Linked DNA regions of Homo sapiens: regions 1 and 2 are each linked to region 3. The links are contacts of gene promoters, found by promoter capture Hi-C in blood cells and fetal thymus (Javierre and others, 2016). All regions are on one chromosome and are shown on one strand. The core of a region is centred on a gene start or on the middle of the fragment in contact, and the rest is flanking DNA. Distances in the headings are between cores, read along the strand shown.

Region 1 (4,044 bases), core at 173-2,672, 600 kb before region 3:
GGACCTGTATGATGTTTTCAAGCTTTGCAGAGATGCTCAAGATATGACTGGACATTTTTGAAAGTTCCTGTGTCCTCTTCAACACATCTTCTCACCAAACATTAATTGTAGTGTCTTTTCTTCCAGAAAACTTGCATAAAATGACTTCCTCTCCTGTGAAAACAGTGTCCTGCTCTGAATGGAGCTTTAAAGGAGTAGCACAAATTGTAAGATGATGTATCTTGAGGCTGGGGCTTAGAGATATTCTGCTGCCTCCCAGAGCTTTGTGCAGACGGGTCTGCCAGGGTGGGAAAGGGAAGCCTCCGTTCTTTTTGGTAAGCTAGCATAAAGACAGGTAAGGGAGTCTATTTTCAAGAAAGCTGGATCTGTTTCATACTCTTTCTGCCCCTAATCACTATGGACAGCTCCAGCAGCACAAAGAGATGAAGGGCAAAGGCAGGATGCAGCAGGCAAAGTTAACATTGTATTTGTGAGTACAGTTGAGGATAAAAAAGGGATGAAATCCACGGTGAGGACCATCATGGTGGGGGAATAGTTTATTCTAATGGATTCAAGAGCTTTGGAGACCAAACTAACACATTTATTTTTATGTGTAGTTAAAGTCATAGAAACCTGTTTTGTGAAACCTCAGATTTCTAAAGAAAACCAGAAGCAAGACCTTCCTTGGTTTAAAAAAAAAAAAGCATTTCTTCAAGCAGTTTGGACCTGTTTTTCGTGTGTATAAAACAGCTTTTTAAATGTCTATGTAAAGAGCATTGGGATTGCTGTTGGTGGTTTTCTGTGCTACTTGAGAAAGTAAGTCTGTATGTGTGAAACTCTTTTTTTTTTTTTGAGACAGAGTTTCGCTCTGTCGCCCAGGCTAGAGGGCAGAGGCGCAATCTCCGCCCACTGCAAGCTCCGCCTCCCGGGTTCAACGCCATTCTCCTACCTCAGCCTCCCGAGTAGCTGGGACTACAGGCACCCGCCACCGTGCCTGGCTAATTTTTTGTATTTTTAGTAGAGACGGGGTTTCACCATGTTAGCCAGGATGGTCTCGATCTCCTGACCTCGTGGTCCACCCGCCTTGGCCTCCCAAAGTGCTGGGATTGCAGGCCTGAGCCACCAAGTCCGGCCAATGTGAAACTCTTTTAGAAAGGCCCAAGAGATTTTTTTTCAGTAGAATAAAATACTGTTGGATAATCACTGGTATATGAAGATTCTATTTCTGTTAAATTTGTTGAGTTTTAGGTGGCTTACAGTTAGTGACAGTAGTTGCACCCTCCATTCAACAAGCTTAATTTTACAGTTTAGGGAGGGAGGATTTATACTTTTGGATTAACAGCAAGAAAAATAGCAAAAATTAAGATGCATCTTAATTAGCACTTTCAGAAATTATTTGTGGAATGAGACTGCAGTTACCAGAGCTCTCTGCATTCTGCCAGTGCACAAGTCTTGGAGTCCAGCCTATCTGGACTTAAGGCTCTACCACGCGCTACCAGGAGACCGTGGAAATGGTATTTAGCATCTTGGAGCCTTGGTGTCATTTGTAGATAAGGTGCGTGGTCCTGAAGTCCTGGACTTGTGGAGATGGAACGAAGCTTAGATTAAGTCAGATGCTTAGTGCTCCTGGCAACGTGCCTGAGGAGCTGTCAGTGCTGGGTGCTGTGGTTCCTGCCTGGACACCCCTTCACCCTGCTGCAGTCCAGTCCCTTGGTCAGGTCACTTTTTTTTTTTTTTAACTGCTCCTTGAGGAGCAGGACTACCCCAGAGGCAGTGTGGCTAGAGTAGCCCGGTCAGGTCACTTTGAACCCCAGGAGGCCTAGTAAACTTGCTTTGGGTGATTTTAGGGTTTAAGTCATCTGTAAGTGGTCTGCCCAGCTACCTATAAATCTATATCCATTAATTTTAAATTATGGATTAAAAAATTTTAATTTCTAGTTATTATTTTTATGACTGACTTCCCCTAGTCACATTACTGAGCAAACTACACACATCTTATTGATCCTAAGAATTCTGTAAGGTAGATGTTTATTTAAACAACACCGTGTTTACTGTGTGCAAGATGTTGTTTTAAGCACTCAGACATAATAACTTATCTGGTTTTCATCATAACTTCATAAGGGCAAAAAAGGCAAGTACTATCATGTGCACCGTCTTACAGGTGATGGGATTGAGGCACAGCGAGGTCAAGTTACGTGCCCAGGGTCACACAGACAGTAAGTGGGGTTCAGACCTGGACAGTCTCCTCCAGTCACTGCTTCCCTTACCCACTGTGCTCTTTTTTTTTTTTTTTTTGAGACGGAGTCTCCTCTGTCGCCCAGGCTGAGTGCAGTGGCGCGATCTCAGCTCACTGCAAGCTCTACCTCCCAGGTTCGTGCCATTCTCCTGCCTCAGCCTCCTGAGTAGCTGGGACTACAGGCGCCCGCCACCATGCCCGGCTAATTTTTTGTATTTTTAGTAGAGACGGGGTTTCATCGTGTTAGCCAGGATGATCTCGATCTCCTGACCTGGTGATCCACATGCTTCGGCCTCCCAAAGTGCTGGGATTACAGACGTGAGCCACCGTGCCCGGCCAACCCATTGTGCTCTTATGTAAGAGCTGGGATTCCATCCATATCGCTGGACTCCAAGCACCTTGCCTGAGGCAGGATGCCATGCTACATCTTTTCAGCAAAGTCCTCGTTTCAAATTCTGCTGTAAAATGATCTCTTTCTATCTTTAGTTGGAAATCTAAAATAAACCGTGACTTTTTTTTTTCTAACTTTAGTTAATGACCTTTTTCCATGACTGTGGAAGTGCTGAGGAGCTAGAGGACACTGTCCTTGTTAAACACCAACTGAGTGGGGCTTCCTAGCCCACTCAGCCTAAAGCTCAGCCCTCTGAAGAACCAATGAGGAAACCAGTGGGGAAACTGGGAACTGCCGGCCAAGCCTGCCTCTACTTGGGGTCAGTGGCCTCACTGCATTCCATGAGCTTGCACAGTACCACTATGTCTTAGTTTTGTGAAGCGTTTAAATTCTGTAAAGCCCTGTCACCTGATGTTTGAGCCCTAGAACATAATTGGTGTATGGTAAAAGCAAGTGATAGCCTTCCTTCTCAGATAAAAAAGAGGTCACTGACCTGCTTATGGTGAGATCCTGTCTGAACTGGGCCTGGGACCCCATCTCCTGACAGTGCAGCTAGCCTAGTTCTCTGTTTCCTGCTGCCTCAGTAACTGAATGTAGTAATTTCATTTGGAGCAGAGGTCAGCTTGTCTTTGGAAAAGCCTCTATTCAGCAGAAAAAGCATCAGCAGTATATTTAAAAGCTGCCATGTAATGACTATAGGGACTCCATTGAGCAGATCCTTTTCTTATCTCCAGATCTTTTCCCTCAACTTCCAGAGCATGTCCTTACACCTGAGATGTAGGTACCCCCAGCTCTGTCCCATATCCAGTGGCATAGTAACCAGGTGGCTTAGTGGAGGAGGACGCAGGACCCTCTGTTGTGGTTTGTGCCTGTGGGGGCTGCCAGAGAGAGGGCTCACCCCATGATTGCCTTCACCCCAATCTCTCACATGCTTCAAAAGAGGGGTCTGGTGGGAGGGGCTGTGTTTAAGGGTGGGATCTGGCAGCCTGTCAAATCCTGGTCAGTTGGGATTCAACGGACCCATGACCACAAGCCTCATGGCCTTTCCTGTTGACCAGCAGTGGCAGTGGGAACAACTCACCTTTTGAAAATACATAGGAAGGCCGGGTGCGGTGGCTCACACCTGTAATCCCAGCACTTTGGGAGGCCGAGGCGGGTAGATCACGAGGTCAGGAGTTCAAGACCAGCCTGGCCAACATGTGAAACCCCGTCTCTACTAAAAATACAAAATTAGCCGGGCGTGGTGGCACATGTCTCTAATCCCAGCTACTCGGGAGGCTGAGGCAGGAGAATCACTTGAACCTGGGAGGCAGAGGTTGCAGTTAGCTGAGATCGCACCATTGCACCCCAGCCTGGGTGACAGAGCAAGACTCCGTCTCAAAAAAAAAAAAAAAAAAAAATAGGAAAAGTTATCTCTGTGCTCCAGAATTCTCTGAAA
Region 2 (4,549 bases), core at 1,400-3,899, 630 kb before region 3:
ACTTTGGGAGGCTGAGGTGGGAGGATTGTTTGAGGTCAGGAGTTCAAGACCAGCCTGGTGAATATAACGAGACCCTATCTCTACAAAAATAAAATAAGAAATTAGCTGGGTGTAGTGGTGCACGTCTGTGGTCCCAGCTACTTGGGAGGCTGAGGCAGGAGGATCCTTTGAGGCCAGGAGTTCCAGGTTACAGTGAGACGTGATCACGCCACTATACTCCAGTTTGGGCAACAAACCCTGTCTCTTAAAAATAAATAAATAAACTTTTAATATAAAATTAAATTTATATAAAATCCAATCATTAAGATAAAAACATTTATTAACATTTCGCCTTTTTTCTTCCAGTATTTTCTCATGCATTAAAAAAAGAAGGCAGTAATACTGTACATTCAAACACCCTTTTAGTAAAATAAAAAACTGAACTGGTTAGATAGTTGAAATCAGTAGGATGGTAGAGGATGGGAAAAGGGAGGGATACTTTGCTGAAAGGCAGAGATAGTGATCTCTTACTGTCTCTGAGACTGAAGGGTGGTCCTCAATTTAATCTTTCCTTCCAGGCATTCTGGAGCAGGGAAGAATCTGACTTTAAAATTGTTCCCTACTTTCTACTGTTTCTCCGTTATTTGGCATGTCCTCCTGAGTTCAGAAGAATAGGTCTTAAGGGTTTTATGCTGCTGAAAGTAATATCCCATTAGATTGCTGGTGGAGCTATTTTTTTTTTTTTTTTTTTTTTACAATGTGAAAGCTGAATTGTTTCTAAGTTCTACTAAACATATATGTACCAGTCAGTGCTTTTCAACTGCGTCAGGTTCCTCAACCTGTGAACCTACCCAGTCCTTTAGGAAAGCCCAGGTGTGATGCAGGAAGTAACCTGCCCTCTACCACAGTACCTGAATCAGGCATGTGCTCTGGAAATGTTGACCTGACATGAGGACAGTCTGTCTTCTCTTTTCTTCACAGATTTTTTTTCTTCACAGATTTTGAAGCCAGCTTCATAAGGCTATTGGACAAAATAACGAATGGTTCTCGAATTGAAATAAACCAAACAGGTAAGCTCCTTTTAGATTCCTAAAAGCACCTCCATGCACTAAAGCATTCCTGTTTCTCACTCTTTTTTTTCTTTCCTTTTTTTTTCTAGTCAGTCTCTGCTTATCCAAATCACTCTTTTTAATGGTATAAATATTATGTTTAAAGCTTTACTAATCACTTTGTATTATATAAATCACCATTAAATTAGAATTTTGGGGGGACTTATATGAGGAACTCACCATATAACTTTGGAGTTATATGAGGAAGCTGTGAGTGTAGATCATAATAAAAGCATATCATTCTAGATCATTTTAAAAAATACCGTGTTCCGATGGAAAGACCCAGTTACCTCTCTGTGATATGATTTTCCAGAGACATACATGAAGTCTCCCAATTTGAAGGGCGTACATTTGATTTAAGGAAGTTAGAAGACTGAAAATTTCAGCAAAGTCTCTCCTCTTTTTTTAACAATAAATATTTTATACATAATGTTTACATGAAACTTTCCAAAGTCCATTTACTTATATTATCACATTAAATTATTTCAGCCAACTCTGTGAGGTAGTTTATGGGCTGAATTCTATTTATTTTAAATTTTGTTTGTTAAAATAAGTTTACACAAGTATATGCAAAAGATGTGAACATCCCTTCACCTCTTTCCTCTTCCATTCCCCTCTCCAGGGGTAGCCACTGTCACAGCATTTGCTTACATGGACATTTGCATAATTCAGACCATCAGCAACATCATGCTCTTCATATTGTTCTTCAGCCAGCATTTTTTTTTTTTTTTTTTTTTGCTAGTACAAATGTCTCAGAGAACTTTCCCTTCCAGCACATGCAGGTCTTCCTTAATATTTCTGTGGGTTGTAGTATAGTATTCCAGTGTATTGATGCATGATAATTTATTTAACTGCTCCCCATTGATAAACATTTAGGTTGTTTCTAGCTTTTATTTTTTCTATTAGAAACTTGTGTCTACATTGTATGGAAAACTGTGGCAAACATCCGTTGGCTGACTCCATTAACTCTCTACCTTTCCGCACACATTCCACAAATAAATCTCTGACCTTTTCCCTATCTTGGCTCTCTTAAGGCAAGCTTGGGTTCATATGTGGTCCTATACCACATGAGATATTCTGATCTATAGCTGCATTCAGCCATATCTTATGGAGAACAGGTTTCGGGAATGAGATACTCACATGTCTTTTGCCAGCTATGAGTCCCTTAATTTCCTTTAGCTTGTTTGCTTTGAAATTGCTGGAGGTTTTTTCAGTAACTTTCATTGGTGATCCAGAAGACGGATAATTCTATTCTTTTTTTGTGTCTGTGTGAGACGGAGTCTTGTTCCGTCAACTAGGCTGGAGTGCAGTGGTGCGATCTTGGCACATGGCGACTTCTGCCTCCCGGGTTCAAACGATTCTCCTGCCTTAGCCTCCCCAGTAGCTGGGATTACAGTTGCCTGCTGCCATACCTGGCTCATTTTTTTTTTTTTTTTAGTAGAGACAGGGTGATCTGTCGGGTGATCCATCCACCTCAGCCTTCCAAAGTGTTGGGATTACAGGCATGAGCCACAGTGCGTGGCCCAAGTCTATTCTTTTCTAGTCATACTGGCAATGTAGATTGAGGAGTAAGACATTTACATGATTCTGCTCCCACTACATGTCCTTTTAATTTTCCGCATCAGAGTAGTAAAAGCCTTCATTCTGATGATCTGGCCAGTTTCTCATTTGGCTAATTTGTATAAATAAACATACGGATTTGAAGCATTTAGTGAATATATAGTCTTTTTATGGTTTTTTGATCTAAAGGATGGTTTTGTGGCCCTTACAACTATTTCAGATAACTGACCCAGAGTCCATTTGAGAAGTGTTCATTACTTTGATCAGAATATGGTCCTGATTGTGATTGTTTGGATTCTAGTGTTTAATGTAGTAAAACCTACATTTATTTTATGAAAGTCCCAAGAACTTTTTCCCATTTGAGTGACTGAACATGCCTCCTTCCTCTAATGTTAAATATATTTTTGGTAAATTGTGCCAGAGGGCATTGCAAAAGATTTTGTGCAGCAGAAATACCTTGTTCAACCATTTATGTCCCCCTATGTCATTTACAGTTTTTTACATTGATATGTAAATCTAGTAAGAAGCTTTTTGGAGAGCCAGGCATGGTGGTTCATGCCTGTAATCCCAGCACTTTGGGAAGATGAGATGGGAGTAAGAAGCTTTTTGGATAGCCAGGCACAAGGTGGTTCATGTCTGTAATCCCAGCACTTTGGGAAGCTGAGCCTAGGAGTTTCAGACTAGCCTGGGCAATATAGTGAGACCCTTTCTCAAAAAAAAAAAATGATTAGCTGAGTGTGGTAGCATGTGCCTAGGGTCTCAGCACTTTGGGAGGCTGAGGTGGGAGGATCACTTGAGCCCAAGAGTTCAAGACTATCCTGGACAACATAGTGAGACCCTTTCTCTAAAATAAAGAAAAAAAAGAAAGAAAGAAAGAAAGAAAAAGAAAAAAAAAATTAGCTGGTCGTGGTCCCAGCTATTCTGGAGGCTGAGATGGGAGGATTGCTTGGCTCTGGAGGTTGAGCTGCAGCAAGCTGTGATCATGCCGCTGTACTCCAGCTTGGGGGACAGAGCAAGACCCTGTCTCAAAACAAAACAAAGCTTTTTGAATGATACGATTATGTGAGAAGTGAATAAAGATAGTAGTTTCCACTAAAGCCGTAAAATAATATTAGGCATGTCCCTGTATCAATATTAAATTAAAAGACCTACTATTAATGGCACTGAATGCCATAAAGTACTTGCCTTTTCTTGGCATCATGTTTGGTGAATGAGGTATATGAGAAATATCATTTCAGGGGCCCTAGAGGATGCTGGTTGCTGGTGTGATGATTTAAGCACATCATTTGTAATTCCCCTCTGTGGTCAGCCTAGTCTGAGAATGTGCTGTTGGGAGACTAGGGTGCTTATTAGGATCTCTTTTCTGTGCCCTGCCATGACTCTGGCAACTCAGATGGCTCAGAGAGGGGTTTACTTTATTACTGATTATTAAATTACATTCACAGTTTATTATTGTTACAGGGGCTTGACAGTAGTGAGTCAGCTTTTGGAGCGAAGTGTGGGCTCTTAGCAAGATGGCATTTCGAGCACTCTTGGATGCCCTTGTCAGGCTTTCCCCTTGGAACTCACTGCCTTCATTACCTTTGTGACATTTTAGTTTTTTTCCTGCTGAATGTGGCTCTTTTTCTTCTGGTTTAAGGAACAACCTTATATTATCAGCCTGGCCTCCTGTATGGTGGATCTGTGGAACATGACTGTAGCGTCCTTCGTGGCATTGGGTATTACCTGGAGAGTCTTCTTTGCTTGGCTCCATTTATGAAGCACCCGTTAAAAATAGTTCTACGAGGAGTGACCAATGATCAGGTTGACCCTTCAGTGAGTATTGAGAACAAACCGTGGTGTGGTTTTTGTTTTGTCTCTTGTCACAACCCAACTTGTGAGAAAAAAGTTCCTTATAAGGC
Region 3 (4,524 bases), core at 1-2,500:
CCTCAAAAGTGATTTGAAAGAAGGAACATCTGAGCTGGGCCCAAACCCTATTGCAATTTTATTGGGGCCAAAGAGAACTCCATGCTCCTGCCAAATCAAGGCAGTGTCAGCCTCAATAATTTCCCAGATAAAAATAAAAATCTGTGATACAATCAGAATGTGAAAATTCTTATTTTGGAAGCAAATGTCATAACCAATGCAAGGGCTATCTCAATATTCATTCATTATGCAGTATTTTGAACTGCAGTTGAAATGAATAAGAAGGAAAGGCAAACAACGAAGAGTCCAATTTCTCAATTTAGAAAAAGAGAAAAAAAAGAAAAGGGAGCACACAGGCACGGTGGCTCAAGCCTGTAATATCAGCACTTTGGCGGATCACTTGAGGTCAAGGAGTTCGAGAAAAGAGAGCACCTAGAAGTTCAGCGCGGGATAATACTTAAGTAAATTATGACACCATCGTCTGTCATCTTGGGCCCATTCACTAACCCAAAGCTTTCAAAAGGGCTTTCTTAACCCTCACCTAGAATAGGCTTCCGCAGCCTTAATCCTTAGGGTGGCAGAATATCAGGGACCCTGAGCATTCTTAAAAGATGTAGCTCGGGATGGGAAGTTCTTTTAATGACAAAGCAAATGAAGTTTCATTATGTCGAGGAACTTTGAGGAAGTCACAGAATCCACGATTTAAAAATATATTTCCTATTATACACCCATACACACACACACACACCTACTTTCTAGAATAAAAACCAAAGCCATATGGGTCTGCTGCTGACTTTTTATATGTTGTAGAGTTATATCAAGTTATGTCAAGATGTTCAGTCACCTTGAAGAGGCTTTTATCAGAAAGGGGGACGCCTTTCTGATAAAGGTTAAGGGGTAACCTTAAGCTCTTACCCCTCTGAAGGTAAAATCAAGGTGCGTTCAGATGTTGGCTTGTTGTAAATTTCTTTTTTTATTAATAACATACTAAATGTGGATTTGCTTTAATCTTCGAAACTCTTCCCGGTGAAAATCTCATTTACAAGAAAACTGGACTGACATGTTTCACTTTCTGTTTCATTTCTATACACAGCTTTATTCCTAGGACACCAACACTAGATACCTAAACTGAAAGCTTCCGCCGATTTCACCGAAGGTCAGGAAAGTCCAACGCCCGGCAAACTGGATTTGCTGCCTTGGGCAGAGGTGGGCGGGACCCCGCCTCCGGGCCTGGCGCAACGCTGAGCAGCTGGCGCGTCCCGCGCGGCCCCAGTTCTGCGCAGCTTCCCGAGGCTCCGCACCAGCCGCGCTTCTGTCCGCCTGCAGGTAGGGAGCGTTGTTCCTCCGCGGGTGCCCACGGCCCAGTATCTCTGGCTAGCTCGCTGGGCACTTTAGGACGGAGGGTCTCTACACCCTTTCTTTGGGATGGAGAGAGGAGAAGGGAAAGGGAACGCGATGGTCTAGGGGGCAGTAGAGCCAATTACCTGTTGGGGTTAATAAGAACAGGCAATGCATCTGGCCTTCCTCCAGGCGCGATTCAGTTTTGCTCTAAAAATAATTTATACCTCTAAAAATAAATAAGATAGGTAGTATAGGATAGGTAGTCATTCTTATGCGACTGTGTGTTCAGAATATAGCTCTGATGCTAGGCTGGAGGTCTGGACACGGGTCCAAGTCCACCGCCAGCTGCTTGCTAGTAACATGACTTGTGTAAGTTATCCCAGCTGCAGCATCTAAGTAAGTCTCTTCCTGCGCTAAGCAGGTCCAGGATCCCTGAACGGAATTTATTTGCTCTGTCCATTCTGAGAACCCAAAGGAGTCCTAAAAGAGGAATGGAGGAGCCTAAGAATAAAAATAGTATAATAAAACATTTCTTAGACACATTGACCTTGGCCTATGTCAAAGTTCAGTCTGGGTTTGTCTTATAACACAAGGAGTAAAAGTACCATTGTTCTACCTCTTTTTTTAATACTTGAAAAAAATTTACTGTGGATGCTTTTCTATGAATTAAATAACCTTCTAAAAAATGTTTTCATTGCTGCATTCGATTAGATTGGGTAACTAAATGAAATTAATTCCTCACTGTTGGGTATAAAGGTTATTTACAGTGGTTCTGTCTTAGCCATTCACTGAACTCATTGCATATATATCTCTGGAATATTGCTGATTGTTTCCTTCAAGTAAACTTAGAAGTGTAACTACTTAGTCAAAGAGCCTGAATATTTTAAAGGCCTTTTGAAGAAAACTGAAAATGCTTTCCAGAAAGGATGTATCAGTTGACAATGACAGTCGTCAACAGTATTTAAGGAGAACTATGATACTCTGAAGAAAAACTTAGCCTTTCTCAGTAAAAGTAGGTAGGCAGAGGCCACATGACAGCAGTTAGAGTGTGGTCTTCAAGGAAGTCACAGAAATACTGTGGGGAATTGAAACCCCATGTGGAAAATGTACAAGAGTGTCTCAGTGTGACTGAGAAGGAGGTTGGGCATGGGGTTTCATGGAGTTTAATAAAGTTTGGTCACTTAGTAGAGGTTTAATAAATCAACTGTCTTAATCTTTGATCCTACTTAAGAATTTTTTTTTTGTTTTTGTAGAGATGGGGCTCTTGTTATGTTGCCCAGGCTGTTCTCGAACTCCTAGCCTCAGGCGATCCTCCCTCCTCAGGCTCCAGAAGTCCTGGGATTACTGGCGGGAGCCACCATGCAGGCCTCTTGCTCCTACTTTTGAGAAAGGAAGTTTAACCGGTTTTTTTTGTCTTTTTTTTTTTTTTTTTGAGACAGAGTCTCACTCTGTTGCCCATGCTGGAGTGCAGTGGTGCAATCTCAGCTCACTGCCTCCCGGGTTCAAGTGATTCTCCTGCCTCAGCCTCCCGAGTAGCTGGGACTACAGGCACCTGCCACCACGCCCAGCTAATTTTTGTATTTTTAGTAGAAATGGGGTTTCACCATATTGGCCAGGCTGATCTCGAACTCCTGACCTCAGGTGATCCGCCTGCCTCGGCCTCCCAAAGTGCTGGGATTACAGGCATGAGCCACTGCTCCTGGCTGCTTAACTTTTTCTCTATCTCATCCTCCTACCCATCCTACCCTTGGAAGATAGAGAAGTAGTATTAGTTCCATAGTGTTATACTGGGCTTCCCCCAGGGACAAACCCACTTCCCCAACCTGAATGAGCCATCACTTCTTCCCCAGTTTACATTTCATTGCTCTTTAAATGTCTCCATTCGGATATGGGAATTCACATATGGTCATAATTCTTACCTGAAGAAGATGTCAGTCTTCTTCTCTTAGACCAACTGCCCTGATATGAGGTTTAGAGGTTAAAGAACATGTGTGTATTTACATGATCTTTGTATTCTGCCTTTTCGTCCCTCACTAATGACAGCTGCACCCCAAGGAAATGGAGCTGTGGAAGAGAGGGTTTGATAAGAAATTAAGTAAATATTGGATCTAATCCATCACCCTCCAGGAAGCCTTTATTACTCCTAAAAATTTCAACCAAATTCATTAAAGGACAAGAACTCCACCAGAGTAGGCCATAAACATTGGCAAAATTAGTTGTAATCCATGACTAGATTTAATGTCCCTTTGTTTTATTCCCATATGGTTATAATGCTTTGCTTGGCATTAGGGGTATTTTAAGTTTTCTTCTGCCTAGTAAGTGAATTTGTGTTTATAATACAATAATCATAAAATATCACATTAATATTTTATAACTGTACAGTTATAAAATATTTTATAAGTAATATTTATATTTTATAAGTAATATTTTATAACTGTACAGTTAACTCTGGCCCAAGGAAAAGATAGTCTGATAGATGCTGCAGCCCCATTTTAGCAAATGTGACCTCACAGGCCTGAATGCCATCGCTATTCCACATCTACAGGATAGACGGAAAGGAAAGAAATAAAAAAATAGGTACCTAACACTGGCAAGAGGATGATGACTCATGTTATTTCACTTAACCTTTTTATCTTTTAACATGAAGGACTCATACAGGTTGATAAGAAACCAGTGACATAAACAGACCAAAAAATGATCAGATCTTTCAAATTAGCAAAAAAATAATATTTTTTAAACAATGGGTGAAAATACAGTGTAACAGTACCAATTATCAACATGTGTTGAGAACCAGAAAAATGTTCTTTTTCTTTGATCAGCAACACTATTTGGGAAAATCTATCCTCAGGGCCTAGCCTGGGGCCCTGGCACACAGTAGGCACTCAACGAATATTTGCTGAACACACAAATACTTATGATATTTTAAAAAATTGGCAACAATCTGATACCTAACAATAGAGGGATTAAATATTATGGAACTGTTAAATAAGATGCTTATGAATACCATGCAGTAAGATGGGCAATATTTATGCCATAAGCTTTAATGAAACAAATGGGTATTAAATGTATGATAAGGTTATAAATTACTTTTTAAAAGATTACAGGGAAAAAAATTGAAAGATATACACTGAAATGTTTTTTGCTCACAGTGGTGACAAGGTTTCTCAGCACTGGCACTGTTGACGTTTTAGGCTGTATGTCTTT

Evidence for each region. Contacts are between HindIII fragments. The CHiCAGO score rates a contact against its expected background, and 5 or more counts as called.
Region 1: a fragment that was not itself captured here is called in contact with the fragment with the promoter of CD274 in region 3 in 1 of 17 cell types (erythroblasts); the score reaches 5.8 in erythroblasts.
Region 2: a fragment that was not itself captured here is called in contact with the fragment with the promoter of CD274 in region 3 in 1 of 17 cell types (erythroblasts); the score reaches 5.5 in erythroblasts.

What each region holds. Positions count from the first base shown.
Region 1 is chr9:4,851,068-4,855,111 of GRCh38, forward strand. All of the region lies in intron 8 of RCL1 (RNA terminal phosphate cyclase like 1), which reads left to right. It overlaps LOC124902113 (a long non-coding RNA gene), which reads left to right. Exons shown (of 2, transcript XR_007061402.1): 1 at 1-2,195; 2 at 2,747-4,044. Among named protein-coding and RNA genes, the nearest start is that of MIR101-2, 2.8 kb to the left of the region's middle. The HindIII fragment of the contact is 305 bases long and covers 1,271-1,575 here.
Region 2 is chr9:4,822,571-4,827,119 of GRCh38, forward strand. It overlaps RCL1 (RNA terminal phosphate cyclase like 1), which reads left to right. Exons shown (of 9, transcript NM_005772.5): 2 at 978-1,049; 3 at 4,288-4,463. Among named protein-coding and RNA genes, the nearest start is that of MIR101-2, 25 kb to the right of the region's middle. The HindIII fragment of the contact is 1,048 bases long and covers 2,126-3,173 here.
Region 3 is chr9:5,449,292-5,453,815 of GRCh38, forward strand. It overlaps CD274 (CD274 molecule), which reads left to right and starts at 1,251. Exons shown (of 7, transcript NM_014143.4): 1 at 1,251-1,305. RefSeq lists enhancers at 1,028-1,077, 1,368-1,527. The HindIII fragment of the contact is 3,244 bases long and covers 1,113-4,356 here.